5 separate regions of the Homo sapiens genome follow, and regions 1, 3, 4 and 5 are each linked to region 2. Evidence: promoter capture Hi-C in 16 types of primary human blood cells and fetal thymus (Javierre and others, 2016). All regions are on one chromosome and are shown on one strand. Each heading gives the region's core, a stretch centred on a gene start or on the middle of the fragment in contact. The rest is flanking DNA. Distances are from core to core; before and after follow the strand shown. Region 1 holds the start of AMIGO3 (adhesion molecule with Ig like domain 3). Region 2 holds the start of RBM5 (RNA binding motif protein 5). Region 3 overlaps TRAIP (TRAF interacting protein). Region 4 overlaps IP6K1 (inositol hexakisphosphate kinase 1). Region 5 overlaps RNF123 (ring finger protein 123).

Evidence for each region. The method cuts DNA at HindIII sites, captures the fragments that hold promoters and counts their contacts. A CHiCAGO score of 5 or more calls a contact.
Region 1: a contact is called between the fragment with the promoter of AMIGO3 here and the fragment with the promoter of RBM5 in region 2, in 1 of 17 cell types (endothelial precursors). The highest score is 5.3, in endothelial precursors.
Region 3: a contact is called between a fragment that was not itself captured here and the fragment with the promoter of RBM5 in region 2, in 1 of 17 cell types (endothelial precursors). The highest score is 6.8, in endothelial precursors.
Region 4: a contact is called between a fragment that was not itself captured here and the fragment with the promoter of RBM5 in region 2, in 1 of 17 cell types (endothelial precursors). The highest score is 7.4, in endothelial precursors.
Region 5: a fragment that was not itself captured here is called in contact with the fragment with the promoter of RBM5 in region 2 in 3 of 17 cell types (endothelial precursors, megakaryocytes and naive B cells); the score reaches 15.5 in endothelial precursors.

What each region holds. Positions count from the first base shown.
Region 1 is chr3:49,715,876-49,721,093 of GRCh38, forward strand. AMIGO3 (adhesion molecule with Ig like domain 3) reads right to left here and starts at 3,809. Exons shown (of 1, transcript NM_198722.3): 1 at 954-3,809. The coding sequence starts at 3,590. The coding sequence ends at 2,076. It overlaps RNF123 (ring finger protein 123), which reads left to right. Exons shown (of 39, transcript NM_022064.5): 33 at 1-135; 34 at 227-302; 35 at 518-602; 36 at 4,636-4,778; 37 at 4,925-5,019; 38 at 5,145-5,218. GMPPB (GDP-mannose pyrophosphorylase B) reads right to left here. Exons shown (of 9, transcript NM_021971.4): 9 at 4,041-5,218. RefSeq lists enhancers at 1,229-1,729, 2,775-3,582, 3,064-3,173, 3,944-4,173 and a silencer at 5,168-5,218. The HindIII fragment of the contact is 8,800 bases long and covers 1,459-5,218 here.
Region 2 is chr3:50,086,824-50,091,596 of GRCh38, forward strand. It overlaps RBM5 (RNA binding motif protein 5), which reads left to right and starts at 2,096. Exons shown (of 25, transcript NM_005778.4): 1 at 2,096-2,206; 2 at 3,559-3,628. The coding sequence starts at 3,612. RefSeq lists enhancers at 1,953-2,544, 2,064-2,233, 2,274-2,383, 2,545-3,135. The HindIII fragment of the contact is 11,751 bases long and covers 1-3,880 here.
Region 3 is chr3:49,829,446-49,834,717 of GRCh38, forward strand. It overlaps TRAIP (TRAF interacting protein), which reads right to left. Exons shown (of 15, transcript NM_005879.3): 11 at 2,471-2,623; 12 at 575-623; 13 at 172-321; 14 at 13-63. Among named protein-coding and RNA genes, the nearest start is that of UBA7, 18 kb to the left of the region's middle. The HindIII fragment of the contact is 6,901 bases long and covers 1-5,272 here.
Region 4 is chr3:49,740,318-49,745,171 of GRCh38, forward strand. The region is part of intron 2 of IP6K1 (inositol hexakisphosphate kinase 1); the gene reads right to left. Among named protein-coding and RNA genes, the nearest start is that of GMPPB, 19 kb to the left of the region's middle. The HindIII fragment of the contact is 2,332 bases long and covers 2,367-4,698 here.
Region 5 is chr3:49,701,132-49,706,407 of GRCh38, forward strand. RNF123 (ring finger protein 123) reads left to right here. Exons shown (of 39, transcript NM_022064.5): 16 at 360-477; 17 at 680-779; 18 at 952-1,013; 19 at 1,203-1,274; 20 at 1,502-1,622; 21 at 2,296-2,397; 22 at 3,519-3,625; 23 at 3,853-4,051; 24 at 4,403-4,548; 25 at 4,851-4,934. Among named protein-coding and RNA genes, the nearest start is that of RNF123, 14 kb to the left of the region's middle. RefSeq lists a silencer at 2,425-2,719. The HindIII fragment of the contact is 173 bases long and covers 1,208-1,380 here.

The DNA of each region.
Region 1 (5,218 bases), core at 2,559-5,058, 370 kb before region 2:
AAGGTATGTGCCACCTGCTTTGACCTCTCGGTCAGCCTGCTGCGTGTCTTGGAGATGACTATCACACTGGTGCCTGAGATATTCCTTGACTGGACCCGGCCTACCTCTGAGATGCTGCTGCGGCGTCTTGCACAGGTGTGGCCATCTGGGCAACAAGGGTGGGACCCTGGGGATGCCCCATTGATGACGCTCCCCATCCACCAATGGACTCCTGCTCCCCTCACAGCTGCTAAACCAGGTGCTGAACCGGGTGACAGCTGAGAGGAACCTGTTTGATCGTGTGGTCACCCTACGGCTGCCTGGTGAGGACCTAGATGCCCTGCACCCCAACACACTACAGGCCTCGGTTCCTCTGCTAGGAACAGTGAGGCCTGATTCCACATTCTGCCCCCGGACAGCCAGACTTGGTGCTCTGCAGTCTCGGCTCACCCTTCTGTAGAGAGGGCAGTGGGCAGGCCTGGAGCCCTTGAAGCAGGAGCATGTGGGTGGCTCATCTCTTTCCTCCCCTTCCCCTCAGGCCTAGAGAGCGTGGACCACTATCCCATTCTGGTGGCAGTGACGGGCATCCTGGTGCAGCTCCTGGTGCGTGGCCCAGCCTCAGAGTGAGTGTTGGGGACCGTGGGCCCCTGTGGGAGTTGGGTGTGTCTGGTGAGGAGGGGCTGGACAGGGCCTCCTGGTACTTCAGTTTCCTCATCTGGAAAATGGACCTCAGCATCAGGTTTTGAGGCAGAGGGAAGGTGGTGAGGTGTGAACGGCCTAAATAGGGGGCAGACGGAGCTGCTCTAAGTAGGAGAATCTGGGACCCCAGCAGGACAGGTGGCCCTGGCCCACAGAGCCACTGGCTTGTGGCCATGCCTCAGGCCAGGCATGGGAGGCAGGACTCCGGAGGGTGTGCCGTCCTGTGGTGGACAGGGCCAGGCCGCCAGGAGAGCTGAACACACGGAGGACCGCCATTGTCTGCAAAGGCTCTAGCAATAAGCATGTGCTACCTTTATTAAACTCTGGAGCAGCGAGGTCCAGGATGGCCATGGGGGCCCCCAGCTCGGCCCCCACACATGAAGGGCTCCCAGACCCCCCTTCCCTGCCCCCCTGCAGTGGGAGCAGTGAGATGCATATGAAGCCAGGGTACCGCCTCAGCCATTAGGCTGAGACCAGTGCCAGCCCTTAAGAGGCTCCTGCTCTCGAGGGACGTGGAGTTCCGGCTCGGCCCTCCCAGCTCGGCCATGCTCGCCAGGCTTTTCGGGCTTTTTACTGCTGAAAAGCAGGGGTGCAGGCCATGATCCCCTTCACTGTGTCTTGTGAGCCCACAGAATGGGCTCTGCCTTCAGAACAACGGGTGGATGCCCCAGGCCAGAGAGAGCAGGGCCTCTGGCTGGGGCTTAGGCCAGACCACCAGGAACCTCTTGAGGAGCCTTTCCTGCCTGGTGCCTGCCCACCGGACTCTGCGTGAAGTTGTGAAGCTTTCAGGAGGTTGGGTGTTGGTGGATGGAGGGAGTCCCATTTCACCAGAGGGCGGGCTTGTTTCCTCTTTCTGTCCTGGGGTGTGGGCGAGATCTTCCTTCAGAGCCGCCTTCTTTTCCCTGTGGGCCCACTCCCTCCCACCCCCTTGGGAAGGGGAGGTGGCCCTGCGTCAGCTCTTGAGCACCACTCCTCGAGAGCTGTCTCAGCCCCTGAGGGTGGACGGGAGGCTCTGCTACAGGGGTTCTTCCACAGGCTGTAGAAGAACACAGCCACTTCCACAGCTGTGCTGTGTTGAAAGCCACAGGGGCCTGGGTCTCTCAGCCTCACAGGGCATTTGGGCACTAGGAAGTCCGCGGGAAAGCAGGAACTAGCACACCTTGCAGGGCCTGGGGCCTTTGGGTCCTGTGCAGGGGCAGAGCAGAAGGCAGGTTGGGGACCACAACCCCTGTCTCTACCAGTGAGCGAGAAGGCCCATTGTGTTTCGAGGCCCATACAGGAAGCTGGGGGGCCAGGCACAGTGCTTCCCACCAGTATCTGCCAGTTCTCTGGACCGAAGCAGGGAGCAGGGCGAGCAGCAAGAGGGTGGGGGCCTGGGTGGGGGAGCCCTGGGCAGTCTAGGTTGTCATGGGACCCTCGGAGCCTATGGAGCTGGCGGACTCAGAGCCAGCCTTCAGCTGCAGGCCTCCAGGGTTGTAGAGATCGAATTCCTCAGCTACTGCCAGCTGCACGCGGCCATTGAGGCCCCTCCGGCCTGGCTCCAGAAAGACTACGTGCTTGTGGACGCTGGCCTTGCGGCTGGGTGCGTCTGGCGGTGTGGTGCTGAGTACTGAGGACTGTGCGCTCAGCTCTTGGAGCGGGCTGGGTGTTTGGGGCCAGCGGCGGCAGCGGCAGGCACGGCGGCAGCAGCGGCAGGGTGGGGCGAACAGGTAGAGCAGCACGAGCACAAGGCCCACGGCACAGCCCAGCAGTGTGGTGAAGCCTGTGTTGAAAGCCTCGGGCTCTGGGCGCGGAAAGTGCACGCTCACGTTGTACTCGTGCGTCTGGTTGTGGTGCAGGCGGGGCCCAGTGGCCAGGCACACGAAGAGTCCCGCATGCTGCTCCTGTACGTTGCCTATGGCCAAGCTGCCGTCGGCCAGCACCGCGATGCTGCCATCGCGGGATCCTGGCGCCCTGAGAAGCTCCTGCTGCGGCGAAACCCAGGCAATGCGCATGGCCGGGACGCTGGTGTTGCAGTAAAGCCTCAGGGACCGACCCACCAGCGCGTACAGGTGCTCTTCCGGCCGCTCTAGGCCAAGAGCTGGGGCCGACGAGCAGTTCTCAAAGACGCGGCTGTGCTGGAAGAAGCGCACGCGGGACGCGGGTACCTTGAAGGCCAAGCATACGTACTCGCGCGCAAAGTCGCGCACGGCGCTCAGGCCCCGCTGGTGCCAGCGCTGTAGCAGGTGGTAGAGGCGGCAGTCGCAAGGCAAAGGGTTGTTGTGCAAGTAGAGGCCGTTCTTGAGGAAGGCCGGCAGCGCGGCCAGCTCAGGTACGGAGATGTGTCCCAGCCGGTTGGAGGAGAGGTCCAGAGTAAGCAGGTGGGTGGCGCTCAGACCGTGCAGGTGGTCGAAGGAGAACGAGGCGAGTTCGTTGCAGCCCAGGTAGAGATGGCTGAGCGCGCGCAGGCCGTGGAAGGCATGCTCGTCCAAGTGCACCAAGCGGTTATTGAACAGAAGCAGCTTCTCCAGCGCCCCCAGCCCGTCGAGGTCGTGGCGGCCAAGCGCCCGCAACGTGTTAGATGATAGATCGAGCAGCCTCAGGCCGCTGGCGTTGACGAAGACGCCGCGACCCAGCGCATCTAGTTCGTTGTGGTCTAGGTGCAGGGCGCGCAGCTGGAAGAGGGGCGCCAACCAGCCGGGGCGCAGGCGCTGGAGCGCGTTGTGGCTCAGGTCGAGGTCCGCAGTAGCGGCAGGTAACTCGGCTGGCACGTCCTGCAGCCCTAGGCCAGTGCAGCTTAGCAGGTCGGCAGCGCAGATACATTTGTAGGGGCAGTTGTGGAGCGCACGGGGCGGGAAACCCTCGGAGTCCGGGGTGCCTAACCCAACGCGCAGCATGCAGAGCAGTGTCCCCAGCAGCACCAACCAGGTCATGGCGGCGACCACCAGGGACAGTACAGAGCAGCTCTGTGCAGGTTGCAGTTCCAGGACTCACCCTCTTCTGCTCTAGTGCGACATGGGTGGCACCGGATGGCCCTTGCCGAGGAGGCACGGCGGGTTCTTGCCAGCCGACGGCCCCTACTCTCCGGTTCCCAGGTTGTGAGGCGGTGCGGCACTCTTAGCCGCGCTCCCTTCGGCTTCGCTAGCCCTCTCCAAGCGAGTTCCTGATCGGCTCCTAAATACTCCCCCCAGGGGCGGGGCCCGGGCTCCTATTGGTTCCCGTTTGAGGAGGCGGGGCGGCTACATCCCTTTGTGCCCAATGGCCCCGCATGACCGCCAGATGGGGAGCAAGGCCAACCCCAAAGTCCCCGTCAGCCTTTGGCTGGCAGCTCTCCGCCGCTCGTTTTTCCTCGGGGAGTAAAAGGGGGAGTCTGGAAGAATGTCTCCAAGCTGCTGTTAGTGTTTATTTGAAGTGACTTTGAAGGACTGATAATATTATGGGGCAGGCAGACTCTCACTATCTTAAGGTGGTTCGCCTGAGCCTTCTTAAAGTGGTACCCCAGGCCGGGCGCGGTGGCTCACGCCTGTAATCCCAGCACTTTGGGAAGCCAAGGCAGGTGGATCACCTGAGGTCAGGAATTCGAGACCAGCCTGGCCAACCTGGTGAAACCCTGTCTCTACTAAAAATACAACAATTAGCCGGGCGTGGTGGTGGGCGTCTGCAATTCCAGCTACTCGGGAGGCTAAAGCAGGAGAATCACTTGAACCCGGGAGGTGGAGGTTGCAGTGAGCCGAGATCGTGCCATCGCACTCCAGCCTGGGCAACAGAGCGAGACTCGTCTCAAGAAAAAAAAAAAAAAAACAGGCTGTGTGGCACCTTACTAGAATACAGGACTTGGGGTTTGGGAAGCAGGGAGACGGAAAGGATGCAGGGGGGGTGATCATGTACGAGCCATGGCACTCCTCATTGGCAATCCCAAGAGAGACTTTTAGCCAGGCCCCAAGCCTTCTGACTGCCCTTGCACCCTCCCCTACCTAGGAGAGAGCAAGCCACATCAGTGCTCCTGGCAGATCCCTGCTTCCAGCTACGCTCAATATGCTATCTCCTGGGACAGCCAGAGCCCCCAGCACCTGGCACTGCTCTGCCAGCCCCTGACCGGAAGCGCTTCTCCCTGCAGAGCTGTGAGTGGGCTGGTGGGGCAGGTCAGGGAAATCTGGGGCTGGGTCGGGTCAGGAGCCTTAAGAACAGCAAAGTCCTAGGCTGGGAATATTCAAGAGGCATCACATCCTCAGCTACCTCTGACTTGACACTACCTACCACTCCCCAGATGCGGATTATATCAGTGCCGATGAGCTGGCCCAAGTGGAACAGATGCTGGCGCACCTGACCTCTGCATCTGCCCAGGCAGCAGCTGCCTCCCTGGTGAGTGGGAACACGGTGCACAGGTCCATGCCACTTGAATATGTGTGCACTCCTACACAGGCACAACGGACATCCACATAGCCAGGCATCCAACTCCAGCCCACCCTTCACTCTCCTCCCTGCAGCCCACCAGTGAGGAGGACCTCTGCCCCATCTGCTATGCCCACCCCATCTCTGCTGTGTTCCAGCCCTGTGGCCA
Region 2 (4,773 bases), core at 846-3,345:
ATCCCTCCACTTATTCTTGAAAGATTTGTTTTCCAGAGAGAGAAGAAAATGGTATAGGCACAGTTTTCTGTAACTGATGTATAACTTTCTGTAACTAATGGTATAGGCACAGTTTTCAATTTGTATGACCTGAAAAATCAGTTCTGGCTGGGTGCGGTGGCTCATGCCTGTAATCCTAGCACTTTGGGAGGCTGAGGCAGGTGGATCACCTGAGGTCAGGAGTTCGAAACCAGCCTGGTCAACATGGTGAAACCCCATCTCTACTAAAAATACAAAAATTAGCTGGGTGTGGTGGCGGGTGCCTGTAATCCCAGCTGTTTGGGAGGCTGAGGCAGGAGAATCACTTGAACCTGGGAGGCAGAGTTTGCAGTGAGTTGAAACTGTGCCATTGCACTCCAGCCTGGGCAACAGGAGCAAAACTCCATCTCAAACAAACAAACAAACAAAAATGTTTGCAAAGCATCTAGGGCAATAATATAGCATCTAGTAAAGCGATCAACTAATGTTCCTCATTTTAATTTATTTTTTATTTTTATTTTTTTTTGAGATAGAGTCTTGCTGTGTTGCACAAGCTGGAGTGCGGTAGAGCAATCTCGGCTCACTGCAACCTCCGCCTCTTGGGTTCAAGCGATTCTCCTACCTCAGCCTCCCAAGTAGCTGGGATTATAGGTGTGCGCCACCACACCCAGCTAATTTTTGTATTTTTAGTAGAGACGGGGTTTAGCCATGTTGGCCAGGCTGGTCTCGAACTCCTGAGCTCAGCTGATCCACCTGCCTCGGCCTCCCACAGTGCTTGGATTACAGGCATGAGCCATCATGCCTGGCCCCTCCTTTTTATTTATTTATTTATTATTATTATTATTATTATTATTATTATTATTATTATTATTATTTTGAGACTGAGTCTTGCTCTGTCACCCAGGCTGGAGTGCAGTGGCACGATCTCAGCTCACTGCAACCTCTGCCTCCCTGGTTCAAGTGATTCTCCTGCCTCAGCCTCCCTAGTAGCTGGAACTACAGGTGCATGCCACCATGCCCGGCTAATTTTTGTATTTTTAGTAGAGACGCGGTTTCACCATATTGGTCAGGCTGGTCTTGAGCTCCTGACCTCGTGATCCACTTGCCTCGGCCTCCCAAAGTGCTGGGATTACAGGCGTGAGCCACTGCGTCCAGCCTTTTTTTTTTTTTTTTTTGAAACAGAGTCTCACTCTGTTGCCCAGGCTGGAGTGCAGTGGCGCAATCTCGGCTCACTGCAAGCTCCGCCTCCCGGGTTCACACCATTCTCCTGCCTCAGCCGCCCAAGTAGCTGGGACTACAGGCGCCCGCCACCATGCCCAGCTAATTTTTTTGTATTTTTAGTAGAGACGGGATTTCACCGTGTTAGCCAGGATGGTCTCGATCTCCTGACCTTGTGATCCGCCCGCCTTGGCCTCCCAAAGTGCTGGGATTACAGGAGTGAGCCACCGCGCCCAGCACCGGCCTCCTTTTTATTTTTTAGCGACAGTTTCTCGCATTGTCCCCAGGCTGGAGTGCTGTGACGAGATCACAGCTCACTGCAGCCTCGACCTCTTGGGCCCAAGCGAACCTCTCACCTCAGCTCCTGAGTAGCTGGGACAAGAGGTGCACGCCACCATGCTCAGTTAATTTTATTTTTTGTAGAGATAGGATCTCACTGTGTTTCCCAGGCTGGTCTCGAACTCCTGGCCTCAAGCGATCCTCCTGCCTCGGCCTCCCAAAATGCTGGCTTGTGAGTGAGCCACCACTTCACGCACGGTCTCCTTTTGAAGTAGAATTAGACAATGTTTTACACCGTGCCAGTGAAAGCAAACTGTACTCTCTACGGCGCTAGTAGCAAAAGCAAAGAATTATTAACATGCCTAATAGGAGCCCTAAAAACTAATCCAGGTCTGCAAAAGCCGATCGACAACTCTGTAGTGATTTAGAAGAGAATTGCAAGACATTAACACAGAGCGTCCTAAGTGACAGGATGGTCTGGCGACCACATTTCCCGGCAGCCCTCGCACAGCCAGGCCGCTTCGAGGATTGGACTTCTCCGCAGGAGGCGGGTGACAGGGGGAGGGGATAAGCGTGAGGTACTGTGGGTAGGAGACGGCCGTCGGCGGAGGCGCCATTTTGTGTAGCCGCCGAACCTTGTTGGAGGTTCTGGGGCGCAGAACCGCTACTGCTGCTTCGGTCTCTCCTTGGGGTAAGTGCGGCGGCTGTCTGTAACGACGGTAGGTTCTTGCCATTTGGGCTGGCCCCCAAGCCTCCCTTGTCAGCTGCCGGAGGCGACTGATCAGCTCCAGCCGGTTCTGTAGAGGGGCTAAATTACCCCAGGCGTTGGAGGGCCGCGCCCTTCCTTGTTGCCAGCTCTGTCAGTTTCCAGAGGGTGTCCAGCCAGCTCAGCCTTGGGCCTGCTTCTTTCTGGCTGTGACTTTGCCCCTTGTGGATACACGTCCCCTAATCTTCAGCCCAACGGAGCAGTGGAGCCGTCGCCTGTCCCTCGGGCACTCCTTGGGAGCTCCCTGGCAGTCTCTGGCCGCCATCCCCCGCTCAACTGCAACTGAATCGCCCTCTCCGAAAAGCTGTTCGGTGATCGCCCATCTGCGGGTTTGGAACCTCTTGGGAGGCGGGAGGGGCATGTGCGGGGAGGGCAGGCCGGACGCTGGAGTCGGTCGAGCAGGCCGTGACGCCGCCATCTCGGCCGCGAGACCCCACGGAGGTGGGTGCCGGCACCGCCCGGGAGACAAGGGGCGGCACCAGTGAATATGCCCCGGGACTTGTTTCCCCCCAGTGGTTCTTTTTCATTTATTAATTTCAACAAATCGTTGAGCATTCGCTCTAGACTAGGCTTCCAGAGACTACTGGAACTGATTTTTCGGACCTCGCGCTCATCGAACGCGGTCCAGCAGTGTGATGTCTTATTACCAACGGGGGGCGGGGGGCCGGGCTGTTCACTACTCAGTGGTTTGTAGTCATAAGAACTGGCTCAAGACGTGGTGGTTATTGTTACCTAGGAATTAGGTCGTTTCTAGCTTTGCTCTTGTCTTATGCGATACGTTATTAATGTAGTAGATTTCAGTCAGCTCAGTATCCCAGCTTCTACGAGGTTTTACATTTTTCATCAGAAGTGTTTGAATTTCATGTTGCTCCTTGTATTAATGAAGACACTTGGATTAATGTTTTAACGGTCAACTATCCCACGGAGTTGCTTTGATACAAAACCAAGGAGCTGATTGTAGCTCTGCCCTTTTTGCTTTGTAATTCTAAGGTAGGAGCAGGGAAGGAGTCTTCTGCTTGCTCCGTATTATGATTCTGTTAAATCTGGAATCTAATATTTTAAAATATGCTTAATCTTCCGGTTTTGCTCATTGTTAACAAAATGTTAGCACGATTTTAACGTTGACAGTTTGTCCCCACCACTTCCCCACCTTAGATAATCACTGTCAATGATTTGAAGGTTTGATGAAATCCCAGCCTCAGTAGTATCCAAGCTATGGAGCTGCTGACTTAAGTGATCTCTGAGATTTATAGCAATTAATCTCTCTTGTCTCCTAGAAAAAATAAAATTTGAACCTTTTGGAGCTGTGTGCTAAATCTTCAGTGGGACAATGGGTTCAGACAAAAGGTAAGTTACTACAGTACGTGGCTTTGATCTCAACATTTCAGTGGGGACTGAACTCCTTGTTTAAAATAGTTTATCAAACTAATATATGAGTGTTTTGCGCCAGGCATTGCTAACGAACACCTTTATGATCCTGTTGTCACAAACTACAGTCTAGTGAGAGAATTAAAGTACTGTGTGAACATGCTGTGATAAAGTGTAGGGTGCTCTTAGAACACATAGGAAGTATGTCTTTTTCTTGTTCACAGCCAGGAAAGCTTCCTGGAGAAAATATTCTCTGGAAGGAAGCTGAAGGATAAGAAAGAATTTTAGGCAAAGAAGGGCAGGGTAGAGTGGGTCACTGAAGGTTCCCTGTGTGGACAGCAACCTTTGCAGAATCCAGGAGATCATACAGTCTGGCACTTAGCACAGTTCCTGGCTGTGGTAAGCAATCAATGAATGCCATTTCTTGTTATTGTTCCCTGAATAGCAAGATGATCCAGACTTAGAGAGCTGAGAAGCTTGGGACTGTGTGTTACATGAAGAAAGAAAGAGCCAAAGAATTAGTGGAAAATTAAGATGAGAGCATTTGGCTATTGTGTCACCTATGGGTACATGCTCTCAGACCATTTGATTTAAACACACACCCTTATTCAGCCATCTGCCTTTTTAGTATTGAGGTCAGTCCCTGTGGTAGATCACATTGACAGGCTGAGGGACCTTAGGAGATGTTCATGTCACATGGTATTTTAATGCTGTGTCAGCAGTCTGTGGTTCTAAATAGCTTACTAAATTAACATTTACCCCTTTGGGGTGTCTCAGTCCCATATTTCCTTTGATTCTTTTTATTAAATTTGTATATTCTAAATGAAGCCCTTATAAACCTTTCCTTTGCCTTATGATTGCACAGCAGTTTTATGAATCTGGTAAACAGTTTACAAAAGGTGTATTTTATCTGTGGTCAAATAGGTTTAAGCCTCTTGTTATTAGGTTTTCCCATGAAGCCCAGTGCTGCCCTTTAGCCAAAAATAAACCAGATGTTATAAGAAGAGTGTTCTCTTAAGGGGTGCTAGTTTTGGGTAACTATCCAGTTGTATCTGACAGACAACTAAGTTGCCTGATGGGGAAAAAAAAGACTAACTTAGTTCATCCAGGTTTTTGGTCCATTT
Region 3 (5,272 bases), core at 1,483-3,982, 260 kb before region 2:
GGAAAAGGATACAGGCTGGATGAATTTTGTCCGGCCACCGAGCCCATCGAAGCCTGTCCTTACCTAGGGTGGAAGGAAGAGATGAGTGGGCCAGGCTAATGGGCTGGGGGGCTGGCCACCCATTTCTACCCAAGAGGGCTGGCTCCTGCCACTGTGGGAAGCCACACTCACCACATCTTTGCTGCAAGAGGACTCTGACCTGGGCCTCTTGGGCTGTTTCTGGCCTAGGATGGCATTCCGGACAAAAATAGGGAAGGCACCAACCAGTTCCTCATCTGGCTCTCCTGCACAGCTCTGGCCACCCAGTGAGAGCTGGGACTCCTGCAGGGAAGACCCCAGGGCCAGACTTGATGAGCTGGATGTCAGCAAAGGAGGGAGGGTAGTGGTGGTGGAACAAGATCAGGATCTCTGATGCCTCACTAGGAGGCAGGAGGGATAATGAGTAGAATCCCAAGGGTGGCTCCGAAGTACCTCAGTCCTGGACCAGGAGTGACAAGGCTCTGGCAAGACCGTGCCCTCCCAAAAGTCCAGTCCTGCCAAAGGTTAGACTGTGCTTCTTCTAGAAAGCTCTTACCTTCCTGGGGCCTTTGCATATCTTCTTGGGGACATCCTGAATTGGGGAGCTACAAGAATGAGAGAGAAGGCAAGGGGTAGGTAAGCAAGACATGGGGGCAGGTGAACCAGGCTCAGCACACGCCCCTTGGGGAGTTACCATGTGGCACTGCTGCTGCCATGCCTGCATTCTGGGCAAGGCACCTCAGTGATCCCACCCCAAGTGCAGGTCTGTTAACAGCTGGACAGCCACAGCCAGTAGGGTGGCAGAGACAGGGATGACTGGGGATGACTGGACCATGTCCCAATCCTGTGGCTTCCACTCAAGGCCAAATTCCAACGCTCCTCAAGTCCTCGGGCACCTCACCATGTCCCAGGCTCTATATGGGGCTGAAGAGCCCAATCAACTCACCACCCACGGGAGGAAAGCCAGTCATGCCCTGATACGAGCAAAAGAAATTTAATGAGCTCAGGCCTAGTCCTGTCTTCCCAGAGAGGGGACACTACCTCCACGAGAGCCTCAGTAAGTTAGCCTTTCAGTAAAGTAGCCCACAAAATCCTCTCAGAACACAGGGCCAAGCCATCTCCCTAGAGAGTGTGTCTAAGAAGGGCCTGGGGCAGAATAGCGCATGGCCCCAGGCCCTGGTCTCCCAATCCCAGCCCCAGAGCCAGAAACTGTATTTCCATCCAATTCCTGGGGAACCCAGCAGCTGGATACCCTCTCCTGGCATTTTCCCTGGTGGGTGAGAAGATGGTGATCTAAGGCTGGCCCTGTGGCTTCTCAAGCCATAAGGACAAGAGTGGGATCAGGGCCTGATGACTGACTCCTCTGCTCCTGCCCTAACGGCCTGTGGTAAGGCTACATGACAACCAAGGCTCCAGGAAGGACGAGCTGAGTTAGGGACTCAGAACTTCACTACCTCCTTCACTACCTCCACAGGCCATGAAGGTGGTGGAAATGTCTCTGAAAGGCCTGGCAGCCTGAAGACCCCAGGTGTCCACCTTCAACCTTTACAGCGGAAGAAGGGCAATGGGAGGAAGCCAGAGTACACAGCAGACACTGACAGGATCCCTGAGGACTACAGCCCACGGGTCCTAGGTTTGTTTCTCATTGCTACCAGGCCTCGCCCTCTACAACAGGGGTGCCCATGCCCCCTGAGGTTTGGGAGGTAGGACAGCCCAGCTGGCTTGCCCTCTTGCTCCCTTCCACCTCCACTGTCTAGCATCTCAGTTTCTTTCTCTTTCTCTTCTTTCTCTCTGTACAAAGTCTTTGAAAAAGAGGAAACCTGCCCAGCCCTTGACCAGCCTCACCTGAACAGTACCTGTATGAATGAGTATAGTCCTTGTCTCCACAGTGAATTACACTTGGCAAAGCTGGCCAAGGAGACAGCCTCCCTTTTTCTGGTCCCACCGTACCCCAGAGCAGGTTCCACCTGCCCCACTGGAATTCCAGACAGCTTCTCATGCTTGCCCCTGTGGGTCACCCCCTTGGGTGGTAAGGCCTTGGGCTCTGTGGTTTGAGATGATCCTCCCTCAGGCATGAGCCTCAGAGGCAAACATAGAAGAGGAAGTTCAGAGTCCCTCGCTCAGGACTCTGGTGGGCAGGCCTTCAAGGTATTGGGAGCACCCTCTCCAGCCCAGACCCACCCCTTCTGGCATCACTGCATTCTCTCTAACTTGCATTCCAATACGTTTGCCTTGAAAGGTGATGGTGAGGAATAATGAGAAAAGAGAAGGGGTTTGCACAGATTGAGTGCTCAGGTGAGGGAACAAGAGGTAGCTGGAACCAAAGCCATGGCCAAGCCTAGGCAACCCTCACTGCCCCATCAGCCACTCAGAGCTAACAGCACAGGGCCTGCAGAGCTGTCTTAGCTATCCCCCTACCAGCCCATGGACAGTGCCAGCGACTATCACTCACTGTGACTTCTCTAGGCAAAGTTTTTCGTAGTAACCATGCTGGGAGCTGGAGGGCCGGGCTGGGGGAGTATCCACATCAAAGGTAGCATTGAGATCAATATCATCACGGAAGGATGGCCGGCGGAGCTTCAGATTCACCTCCACAGGGGCTGGGCTGAAGGCAGAGATGACCTGGTTACTTGGGGCCACAGTGGTAACCCAGGACAACAGCTCCTGAAGCATCAGAGATAACTCAGCTCCAGGGACCTGGAGCCCACTCCTGACTCAAGGCCACCCCTCAAGAGAGCCCTACTCTCGGCCAGGCACAGTGGCTCACGCCTGTAATCCCAGCACTTTGGGAGGCCAAGGCGGGTGGATCAAGCGGTCAAGAGATCAAGACCACCCGGGCTAACATGGTGAAACCCCATCCTACTAAAAATACAAAAATTAGCTGGGTGTGGTGGCTTGTGTCTGTAGTCCCAGCTACTCGGGAGGCTGAGGCAGGAGAATTGCTTGAACTCGGGAGGCAGAGCTTGCGGTGAGCCGAGATCGCGCCACTGCACTCCAGCCTGGGCGACAGAGCAAGACTCCGTCTCAGGAAAAAAAAAAAAAAAAGTTTAAATTTAATTTAATTTAAAAAGCACACAAAACTCCATGTATAGTGCAATTACATGATTTGGCACCCCCCCACCACTCCCACATGCAGAAAAAGGAGAAGGAAATATTCCACATGTCAACCATAAGTACCTCTATGATAACTCCCTATTTTCCAAATTCTCAATGAGTGTGTTTTTACTTTTATAACACGGGGGGGGGGGGGGGGTGGGGGGTGGGGAGTGAAGTTTTATTCTATTAAAACTACAGCCGACAGGATTCTTCCAGCCCACCCAGACCTGGCAGGGCTCCCCACCTCCTGTCATACAAGGAGAACCCTGGGGAATGGCAAGGGTAGCTCCAAAGATGCCTTCTCTCTTTCCTTCCTCAGGAACTTTTCAGAGCTGCACCACAATCCCACTTCCACTGGGGTGTACACATCAGAGGGAGGAAGCCTACCTGCATTGATTTGGGTGGCTAAGCAATCCAGGCAGCCTGGACTATTTCTTCCTTTCCCTGTCCAGGACCCTAGAAGCTCTACCTCTGTCCCCGCCTGCAAGTTAAAATGAAGACTGCACAAACCCACCTCAAACCAACTCTAGGCTGGCTGCTTTGCTTCCTCCTCTGGGAACCACAGCAGCCAGGACCACTCATGCCAACTTTTTTGCAGTATCCATATTCTGCCACCATTTACCAACCCCAGCAAGTTGAGGCTCAGGTTAGGAAAGGTAAACTCAAGAGGAAGGCAGGATCTCGCTGGGTCCTGTAAATTTTACCCTCCAGGTGGCTCAAGGCAGGACTTTCTACTCCCAGCCATCCCCTAAGGCGTTGCCTAGTGGTGCCCAAGCTCAAGGCAAGCCAGGCTTATTCACTTGCACCTCCTGGTCATCCACAACACTAAACTCAAGACTCAGGAGGTTCTCACGGTGCCTCCCTCACTCCCCATATCCACATCTGGATCATATGGACACATTTCTTCCTCTCTTAGACTGTTTCTTTTTTTTTTTTTTGAGACGGAATCTTGCTCTGTCACCCAGGCTGGAGTGCAGTGGTGCGATCTCGGCTCACTGCAAGCTCCGCCTTCCGGGTTCAAGCCATTCTCCTGCCTCAGCCTCCTGAGTAGCTGGGGCTACAGGCGCCCGCCACCACGCCCAGCTAATTTTTTGTATTTTTAGTAGAGATGGGGTTACACCGTGTTAGCCAGGATGGTCTCGCTCTCCTGACCTCGTGATCTGCCCACCTCGGCCTCCCAAAGTGCTGGTATTACAGGCATGAGCCACCGCGCCCGGCCTTGTCTTAGACTGTTTCTATATTCTTCTTCCTTCATGAGCTTGAAGCCTATTTCCCTTTCTGCCAGGGGTCCACTTTCTTTCCTTCCCACTTTCTGTTTGTCCTACAAGGAGAAAGAACCTAGGGCTTAGTAGTCCTTCCCTCACTGGTTGAGGCTGGCTTGAGGCCCTCCTGAGTGACACTATCACCCTTGGGACACCCACCCATGGTCAAGTTACAGGGCTTCATGCCAGAGGCCTCAGGGAGCCAGGCAAGACACTCAAAGCTCCCCTTTCCAGAACAGAGCTAAGGCCTTGAGCAGCCCATTGCCTGCGTGGCATGGGATTAGTCAACATCTCCTCCATGAACTCATGGCTCCTGGCGGCCTTACCCTACCCTAAGGAAAGGTCTCCCTGGCTGTCTCTAGCCTGGAGTTCAGGGGCCCTTGGGGCCCATGAGAGAGATCTTCCTAACATTGACTCTGTAGTTGGGGGTGGTGGCTACATGCTGATGCCTCCCTAAAATGACAGGTATGAAGGGTAATCCTACTGCAACAAGTAGAAGGGGCAACCACCATCAGCCCCCAGAGATTTCCAAAAAATTCTGGGAGACAAAGCATGGCCAGGGGACAAGAGACTGACACAGCAGCCAGAACCCACAAGGAGGGGGTCCATGAAGGAAAGGGAGGGCCTTGCAAAAGCATTAAACAGGCCTGAAAACTGGAACACTGATGAAATTGTGAGCTTGGCTCCACCCCATCCTAATCTGCATTGGTAGAACACTAGGCAGTTAGGCTGCTGCCCTGGGCCAATAAATAGAAGAGCTTTTCTCAAAGACACTAAACAAACTATGTACAATGACCTAGGGCAGCCAATATTATTGGACCCAACAGTAAAGCCTTCTGCATCCTGGGTTCAGGTAAGACTCAACATGATGCCAGCAGTCTGCACATCCCCCCCAA
Region 4 (4,854 bases), core at 2,283-4,782, 350 kb before region 2:
CCTTCGCTTCCCAAAGTGCTAGGATTACTGGTGTGAGCCACCATGCCCAGCCATTTAATCATTTTTAAAGGTACAATTCAGTGGGCATTAAGTACATTGACAATACTGAATAACCACCACCATTATCTATTTCCAAAATGTTTTTCATCACCTGAAACAAAAATGCTGTACCCATTAAGCAGTAACTCCCCATTTTCCCTTCCTCCTAGCCCCAGTAACCAAATCTACTTTCTATCTCTACAGATTTGCCTATTATGCATATTTCATATAAGTGAAATCATACAATGTTTGTTCTTTTGTGTCTGGCTTAGTTCACTTAGCATAGTGTTTGCAAGGTTCATCTGTGTCACAGCATATATCAGAACTTCATTCTTTTTTATGGCTCAATAGTATTCCATTGTAAGTATATATCACATCTGTTATGTATTATCTATATTGATGGACACTTGGGTTGTTTCCACCTTTTAGCTATTATGAATGATGCTGTTGTGAACACTGGCTTACAACAATCCATTTGAATCCCTGTTTTTTCTTTTTTCTTTTTTTTTTTTTTTGAGATGGAATCTTGCTCTGTCGCCCAGGCTGGAGTGCAGTGGTGCAACCTCAGCTCACTGCAATCTCCGCCTCCCGAGGTGATTCTCCTGCCTCAGCCTCCTGAGGAGCGGGGATTACAGGTGCCTGCCACCACGCTCGGCTACTTTTTGTATTTTTTAGCAGAGACAGGGTTTTGCCATGTTAGCCAGGCTGGTCTTGAACTACTGACCTCAGGTGATCTGCCCGCCTCCCAAAGTACTAGGATTACAGGCATGAGCCACTGCACCTGGCCACAGTCCCTGTTTTCAATTGTTTTGGATATATATGTAGGAGTGGAATTGCTGGATCATATGGTTTCTGTGTTCACCTTTGGGAGGAACTGCCAAACTCTTTTCCACAGTGGCTACACCACTTTACATTTTCATCAGCAATGTTCCCATTTCTCCACATCCTTGCCAACAGTTATTTCCCTTTTTTCTTTAAACTATTATAGCCATACTAGGTAAAATAAGATACCTGGTATGAAGTGGTATCTTATTTTGGTTTTGATTTGCATTTCTTAATGACTAATCATGTTGATGTGCTACTGGCCATCTGTATGTCCTCTCTGGAAAAATCTCTATTCAAGCCCTTTGTGCAGTTTTGAAACTGGGTGATTTTTATTGCTTTCAAAACATAATCAGAAGAATACTAAATTTGGAAAAATAAATATTCTAAGGCTGCTAAATAAGAACAAAGCCAGAAATAAACACACTGCTTTCTCCAAGTGGCTAGGAAACTTTAACAGTCCCAAACACTTTATAAATGTAGCTTCAGCCACCTATCCATCCACATTCAAAACACTGAAGGCCAAACATTCTGCCATAAATATGCCAAAGCCAGAAATAAAACTATAGGCCCTGTCAGCTCATGGAGTCCTTCTGATGCTAAGGAAAAAATCCCTTAAAAGGTAAATGAGCCCTGCTTCCAGATAGGTGTTCTCTAAATTACAACCATCAGAACTGGGACAAGACAATTTAGAACTTCAAGGTGCCTCCCAGGGAAGGGTTGGCAGTCTCTAGCACTGGTTCAGTATTTCCTCACACCTTCCTCCTCTCAAACTGAGTAACAGGTATCTTTAAAGGCCATAATATGAGAGGATTGCTTGAGGTCAGGAGTTTGAGTCTGCAGTGAGCCATGACTGTACCACTGCACTCCAGCCTGGGCGACACAGCAAGACCCTGTCTCAAAATAAAAATAAAAAAATAAAAGCCACAGTAAATTCTTAGGATCTACTTTATTTTCTTTGCTTAGGCTACATTTTCACTAGGAAAGAATAAATATGCTAGCTCAAAAGTACAATTCAATTAAACTAAAATTAATCCCTTCTTTCTAAGTCAAATGAAGCCCAATTTAGTCAAAGAAAATAGAAGCATAGGCTGGGCACGGTGGCTTACGCCTGTAATCCCAGCACTTTGGGAGGCTGAGGGGGGCGGATCACGAGGTCAGGAGATTGAGACCATCCTGGCTAACACGGTGAAACCCTGTCTCTACTAAAAATACAAAAAATTAGCCGGGCGTGGTGGTACACGCCTGTAGTCCCAACTACTCGGGAGGCTGAGGCAGGAGAATGGCGTGAGCCCGGGAGGCAGAGCTTGCAGTGAGCCAAGATCGCGCCACTGCACTCCAGCCTGGGCAACAGAGTGAGACTCCATCTCAAAAAAGAAAAAGAAAAAAAAATAGAAGCATAGTGGAAGATATTATTAGTCAAATTAATCTATTTCAGGGCCAGGCATGGTGGCTCACATCTGTAATCCCAGCACATTGGGAGGCCAAGGCAGGCAGATCACTTAAGCTTAGAAGTTTGAGACCCGCCTGGGCAACATGGTGAGACCCTGTCTCTACAAAATACAAAAAAAAAGAGCCGGTGCACACCTGTGGTCCCAGCTACTCCAGAGGCTGAGGTGGGAGAATCACTTGAGCCCAGGAGGTCAAGGCTGTGGTGAGTTGAGATCGTGCCACTGCATTCCAGTCTGGGCAACAGAGTGAGACCCTGTCTCAAAATAGTATATAAATAAATAAATTGGACTAAAATTTTATATTAAAAAAACACACAGTCCAGCCACGGTGGCTCATACCTGTATCCAGGCACTTTGGGAGGCCAAGGCAAGTGGGTCACTTAAGGTCAGGAGTTCGAGACCAACCTGACCAACATGGTGAAACCCCATCTCTACTAAAAATACAAAAATTAGCCAGGAATGGTGGCAGGCACCTGTAAGTCCCAGCTACTCAGGAGGCTGAGGTCCTTGAACCCAGGAGGTAGAGGTTGCAGTGAGCCAAGTTCATACCACTGCACTCTAGCCTAGGCAATGAAGCAAGACCCTATCTCAAAACAAAAACAAAAACAAAATACACACACACACACACACACACACACACACACACACACACTTACCTTTCAGCTGGGAGCAGTGGCTCACACCTGTGATCCCAGCTACTTGGGAGGCTGAGGTATCATGCCTCATGGAGGAGGATCACTTGAGACCAGGAGTTCAAGACTAGCCCAGGCAACATAGTGAGGTCCGATCTCTTAAATCTCAGCACTATGAGAGGCCAAGGTGGGAGGATTCCTTGAGGCTAGGAGTTCAAAACTAGCCTGGGTAACAGAGCAAGACCCTGTCTCTACAAAAAACTTTAAAAATTACCTAGTTGTAGTGGCGTGCCTATAGTCCCAGCTACTCGGGGGGCTGAGGTGGGAGGATCACTTGAGCCATAGTTTTTTTTTTTTGTTTTTTTTTTTTTTTTGAGACAAGAGTTTCACTCTTGTTGCCCAGGCTGGAATGCAATGGCGTGGTCTCTGCTCACTGCAACCTCTGCCTCCCGGGTTCAAGTGATTCTTCTGCCTCAGCCTCCCAAGTAACTGGGATTATAGGCACCTGCCAGCACACCCAACTAAGTTTTGTATTTTTAGTAGAGACAGGGTTTCACCATGTTGGCGAGGCTGGTCTCGAACTCCTGACCTCAGGTGATCCGCCTGCCTCGGCCTCCCAAAGTGCTAGGATTATAGGCATGAGCCACCATGCCCGGCGGAGCCATGGTTTCGAGGCTGCAGTGAGGTATGATTGCACCACTGCACAATGCGCCACAATTATTACTGTGTTGTAATGTCTAATGGTGTGTGTAATGCCTAATGGTGTGTGCTGAATGGTATTACTGTGTTGTCTGCCTAATGGTGACTTCTATTCCCATCATTCCTTCTATATTTATTAATCAAAATAAATCAGAATTCTGGCCGGGCACGGTGGCTCACTCCTGTAATCCCAGCACTTTGGGAGGCCGAGGCAGGTGGATCACAAGGTCAGGAGATTGAGACCATCCTGGCTAACATGGTGAAACCCTGTCTCTACTAAAAATACAAAAGATTAGCCAGGCTTGGTGGCGGGAGCCTGTAGTCCCAGCTACTCGGGAGGCTGAGGCAGAAGAATGGCGTGAACCCGGGGGGCAGAGCTTGCAGTGAGGCGAGACTGCGCCACTGCACTCCAACCTGGACAACAGAGCGAGACTCCGTCTCAAAAAAAAAAAAAAAAAAAAAAAAAAAGAAATTAGAATTCTATAAGGAAGAGTTGTCCCTTCATATCCATGTATTTATCAGTATAGACTTGTGGATATTTTGTCATTTAAATTCTTCTAGATTGGGCCCTTCAATTCCTTTAAAGTTAGCTCTTCGTACTTCTGACATGATTTTTGACCACTTCTTTACTATCTGTCACCATAAGATGTTCTAGGCTTGTCTTATAATTTTCCTGCCCGAACTCAGGAACCAACCATTTCACCAAGGAGCTCTGTTTCTTTTTATTGTAAGAATGGTATTTAGAAAACTCAGGATTTGGTTACTAGATATACTGATTGCTACTGAAGTATCACTGCTTTTAGGCCCTTTCAGCACATGGAGCTAAGAAATACATGTATGATTACTAGCCCACACACATACACACATCTAATTGCTGCTATCAGCACAGGTGTTTAAGCTCAATTAAGCTAAGAAAAAGTGTCAATAATATTTCATATCTTGGCAGGTTTAAAAACAAATTTTCATTTATTTAGTATGACCAGCTACAATCATCAACTGTTAGTGCTTGCAGTACTAAATGTGAAGTTCAAGGCTTCTGTACATTTATGCAAATAAGCTTTGCCTCATTCATTTATCAAGTATTTACTGACCATCTACTAGATGCCAGGCCCTGAACTCATAAGTGTAAAAGACAAAAAAAAAAGTCCATACCTTCAAGGAGCTTCCATACTAATGTGAAAAACAAACACATAGACAAAAATACAGATTGT
Region 5 (5,276 bases), core at 44-2,543, 390 kb before region 2:
TTTTCTTGGTCTGGGGTCTTCCAGCCTCCAGGAGGCAGACACAAAGCTGGGAGACACAGAGGTCAGAGTTGGGGCCTGAGAAAAGGCCACCAGTCCCTCTCTCCAGCTTGTCCCACAGTCATCTGTTCCTGTGACAAGCCCTTATCGTGCACCTGCTGGGTACTGGAGCTGGTGGGCTTAACCACCACAGCTTTTTGTCAGGGAGCATGCCCTGGGGGTCAGACACATAGCAGCAACATGCCCCTGTGGTGGTGGGAGAGCTGTGGTAGGCACATCCAGGGATGGGCTCCTGGGGAAGGACTCTTGAGGGTGTGCAGAGTGCCCTTTGGCAAGCAGAGCCCTGCCTTGACACCCGCCAGCTTCGACGTGCTCCGCTCCGTCGTCTTCTTTTACATCAAGAGCCCCCTGCGTGTGGAGGAGGCCGGCCTGCAGGAGCTCATTCCCACCACCTGGTGGCCCCACTGCTCCAGTAGGGAGGTGAGTGCACCCCAAGTGGGATGGGCAGAGGTCATGGCAAGGCCCCTGGCCTGGGCATCTGGCCACTGGGCATCTAGCATGAGGCCTTTTCACTGGCCCTGGTCCCTGAAGCCCTGGAGATGGAGTGTGGGTGTTCTGAGTGAAGGAGGCCTGGCTAGGTCCCAGGTGACCCTGCTGTATTCCACCTGCTACCCCTGCCTAGGGCAAAGAGAGCACGGAGATGAAGGAGGAGACCGCAGAGGAGCGGCTGCGGCGGCGAGCCTACGAACGGGGCTGTCAGCGGCTCAGGAAGCGCATCGAAGGTCAGCCCGCCTTGGGCACGGGGTAGGGTGGGAGGTGTGTGTGTGCACATGAGGGTGCTTGGAGGTGCCCATGTCTAGGTGGGACTTGGGGAACCCTGGTGGTGGAGCCCTGGCCCAAACCTGCCCCCCATCTCCTGGAGCCTGAGGGCCATGTTCCTCACCTGACCTCCAGTGGTGGAAGAACTACAGGTCCAGATCCTGAAGCTGCTGCTGGACAATAAAGATGACAATGGGGTGAGTGACTCCCAGGAGCCCTGGGTGGGGCCCTGTGGGGAGGGATGCTGCACTGGGCCTTAAGACCCAGAGGGTGGGAACTGGGTTTGGTTCCCATGGCAGGGGCTGGGGGAAGGTGCAGCACTGAGCCAGCCCAGTCTGGGCCTGCATTCTCAGCTCAGCACAGCCTCACTTTTCCCTCTCTCAAAGGGTGAAGCTTCTAGGTATATCTTCCTGACCAAGTTTCGCAAGTTTCTGCAGGAGAACGCCAGTGGCCGGGGGGTAGGTGTCCTCCAGGCCAGCCCACTGTGGATCCCCGGCTGCACTACACATGCCATGCCCTCAGCACCTGGCACTTCTCGGACTGCCTCATCCCTGCCTAGCCCCAAGCTTTTCTCTGCTGCTTTTCCCTCCCTGCTTAACCCTCGACCCTCAGGCAGGGCCTTGGATGAGGAATGGGCAAGGCACTGGACTGGCACCAATGCATGTTTCATGCCTGGTGTCCACAGAACATGCCCATGCTCTGCCCCCCTGAGTACATGGTCTGCTTCTTACACCGGCTGATCTCTGCCCTGCGCTACTATTGGGATGAATACAAGGCTTCCAATCCTCATGCTTCCTTCAGTGAGGGTGAGTGGCACCGGGGTCCCAGGTCAGTGAGGCTGGACAGAGCCAGGCGTAGGGCAGCCCCTAATGTTAGTGCAGAGTGCTGAGCTGAGGCTGTGGGCTGTGGGGAGTTGTCCCCGGCATCCTGCCTGGTTGAGTCCTACCCAGCCACAGGCGGCTTCTCCACTGGGGCAGCAGGAGCCCTGCACCGCAGGCCTGCCGATCCTGTGTTTGCTCTGATTGTCCCACGGGCTCCTACCATTGTGGGCTCTTTTCTTCCGTCCTTGCCCCCCCATTTCTCTGTGCGTCCTTTATAGGGCTGCCTTGGGTGGGTGCTGGGGGGCCCTGTGTTTGAGTCCCCAAGGGTCAGTGGGAGCCTTACCTGCCCTGGATTGGGGGATATCCCACAGGACTGGGGCTGGGCCTCTCTGCTTCTCCTGAGTGAACGGCTGCCATGAGTACCCCCATCACCCCAAGTTATGCAGCTGCTGGCTCTGACCTGAAATGGCAGGGGTGGAGAAGAGGTAGGGGAGGTCTGTTTCTTGGTCCAGGAGACAGTTTCTCTGTCTGCCTGGATGGGTGAGTGGCCAAAGCCAGAATTCCCAGGCTGTGCTAGGCCAGATTGGAGGGGAGGGCTGTGGGGAGGGTCTTCCTACTGGGCCGTGACCACTGGCCTAGCCTCCTCAATTCCTCGCAGAGGCCTACATCCCGCCCCAGGTCTTCTATAATGGCAAGGTGGACTACTTTGACCTGCAGCGCCTGGGGGGCCTCCTCTCGCACCTGCGGAAGACCCTCAAAGGTGTGTACAGGCCTGTGGGCCGGGAGCAGTTCTGGGGCCAGGTGGGGGACTGTCCCTGAGCCTGCTCTGCTGTGGATGCTGAGCCATCCTATGGCCACCAGAGGGTGCCCAAGTCTTTCCACCCACTCAGGCAGGGAGACACTGATCTGCCTGCCCTACATCTGGGCAGCTTCTCTTTCCCGCCAGCACCCACGCCATAGGGGTCGGGCGTGCCTGGCAGGGGACCAGGGATCTTGGTGAGGTGTGGATGGGGCGTGCAGGTGCTGCCGGAGCTGCCTTCAGGGATGAGCACAAGCTGCCCCGGTGCAGGGCTGAGGGCACAGCGAGAGCAAGGCCCTGAGCCGGGCACAAGGGTGGGTCTGTGCTGTCAGAACCTCTCTCTGGCTGCCGCAGTGTATACGCCGGAGTGCAGGGGCTGAGAGACAGGGAGCCCAGGTGTCCCCACACAGGAGATAAGGGCCTGCCCAGGTAGGTAGGGGAGGGCACAGGTGGAGGAGAGGAGTCAGGATGACCCCAGGCTTCCTGCCAGAGGTTGTGTGGATGGGGTGCCATCAGGGAGAGGGGCTGCAGGAGGTGGTGGAGATGAGAAATTCTGTTTGGACACAGCGCGTTTAGCGGGGAGCAAGGCCTGGGCGGGGGGCAGCGAAGGCGGGGTCAGTTGTCAGCACGGTGGTGGGGATGAGCCTGGGATGAGGCTTGGCTCCCACTGGGAGTGCCCAGAATGAAGCAGCCCTGGCATCTCCTTTTGTTTATGGAGTAGTCAGAGAGTGGGGGAGGCCCTGGAGAGCAGGAAGTCCTGGGAAACAAAGCCAGGGACCAGCAGGAAGGGCATGATGGGCTTACATCTATGTAGAATAAAGAAAGTCAATTTGAAAATAAATGAAAAAGAAGGGTGTGATGGGGAAGGCCTCCTGTTACTGAGTGGCAGCTAGACGGGGCCCTTGAGATGCAGAGTGAAGGCTGGGTGGAGGAGGCGGAGGGGCGAGGGGCAGATACGGTGCTAAACCGGGCTCTGCAAGGCCTCCTGCCCAGTGTGCTGGGCTCTCTCACCGTCCTGGGCACTTCCACTGTGGCCCCTTGCGCCACCACTGGCCTGAGAACCCTCCTGCTCTTCCTCCCAGATGACCTTGCTTCCAAAGCCAACATTGTGATCGACCCACTGGAGCTCCAGTCAACCGCCATGGATGACCTAGATGAGGATGAGGAGCCAGCCCCAGCTATGGCCCAGGTGCCGCAGTGGGGGCAGGCGGTGGGATTTGTGTTGGGCTTATCCTGTATCTTATGGGCAGGGGTCTCATCCAGGGCCACTTCCCGCTCCATGCAGGCAAAGGGTTTCTCACTGGGCTGGTGCCTTGCTGTGGGTGGAGGCATGGACCCTCCCTCACAATTCTGCAGCCCCGTGGGCCAAGGGAACCCTGAGCCAGCCCTGGTCCTGGCCGCCTTTCTTCACTGCAGCGCCCCATGCAGGCCCTGGCTGTTGGGGGGCCACTGCCCCTGCCCCGGCCCGGCTGGCTCAGTTCTCCAACTTTGGGCCGAGCCAACCGCTTCCTCAGCACAGCGGCTGTGAGCCTCATGACCCCACGGCGGCCTCTGAGCACCTCGGAGAAAGTGAAGGTCCGCACGCTGAGCGTGGAGCAGAGGACCCGTGAGGACAGTAGGTGCTTGGTGGGGTCAGGCAGGTCCCCGAAGGACCCTTCCACAGTGTACAGTCCCCGATCCGGGCAAAGCCAAAATACACCCCATGCCCTCCCAGCCCTGTGGCCTGGCAGCATCCCAGGAGTGCAGGAAGCACACTCCGAGGGCAGGAGATCAATGCCGCAGAAATAGGTCCTGGCACCGCAGGCCTTGCCCTGCACTCCACCCCTACCCCCATGCCCCCATGGGCTCCCCGCGGGTCCCTCCTTGGGCACAGGAATGGGAGAGATGATTTCCTCTCCTGCTGTGAGGCAGGCTCAGGAGAGCCGGGATGGCCCTACCCTTGACCCTTCCCTCCCCAACTCCCCAGTTGAAGGCAGCCACTGGAATGAGGGCTTGCTGCTGGGGCGGCCCCCCGAGGAGCCTGAGCAGCCCCTCACCGAGAACTCGCTGCTGGAAGTCCTGGATGGGGCGGTCATGATGTACAACCTCAGCGTACACCAGCAGCTGGGCAAGGTCGTGCACTCTTGGACCCCGCATTGGGTGGCGGGTGTTGTGCGTGTTTGGTTGTGTGTGTATTCCTGTGTGCACATGGGCCCGCAGGGCTGCCTGTTCAAGACCGTGCATGGGAGCACATGCCTCAGCGAGGCTGGTTTCTGCTCCTGCTGCCTCAGTCTGACCTGCTGACTGTTGTGGGAATGGGACCGCCCTGGGCCTAAGGTTGGGACCTTGGCAGGGCTGGGGTCCAGACTGGGTCTGAAGAAGCCTGGATGAAGTGCCCAAGGGGCACTCTGGACATGTGGTCCCATGCTGTGTAGATGGTGGGTGTCTCCGATGATGTCAATGAATACGCTATGGCTCTGAGGGACACAGAGGACAAGCTCCGCCGGTGCCCCAAGAGGGTAAGGCCCACATAGTCTTGGTGAGGGGCAGCTTGCTTACTCGTACAGGTAACCACAGATGAAGTCTGGTTCTGGGGGCTGCCCTGGCAGTTCTCATCCCCACTCTAGCCCTGGCCATAGCACGCCAGTGAGAGTGGGGCTGGCAGCAAGGCCTGGCACCCATCACCAGTGTGGCCTGTGCCTAGGTGCCCCCCACCCCCTGGGCCCAATAAGTGCTGAAGCACACCCACTCTCCTCATCAATTATTCATTGACCCTGAGTGCTTCCTCGGCCACTTGCAGAGTCAGCAGGAAGCAGGGCCTGGCTCCACTGCACCCTCCGGAGCCCTCTGCTGTAGCTGCC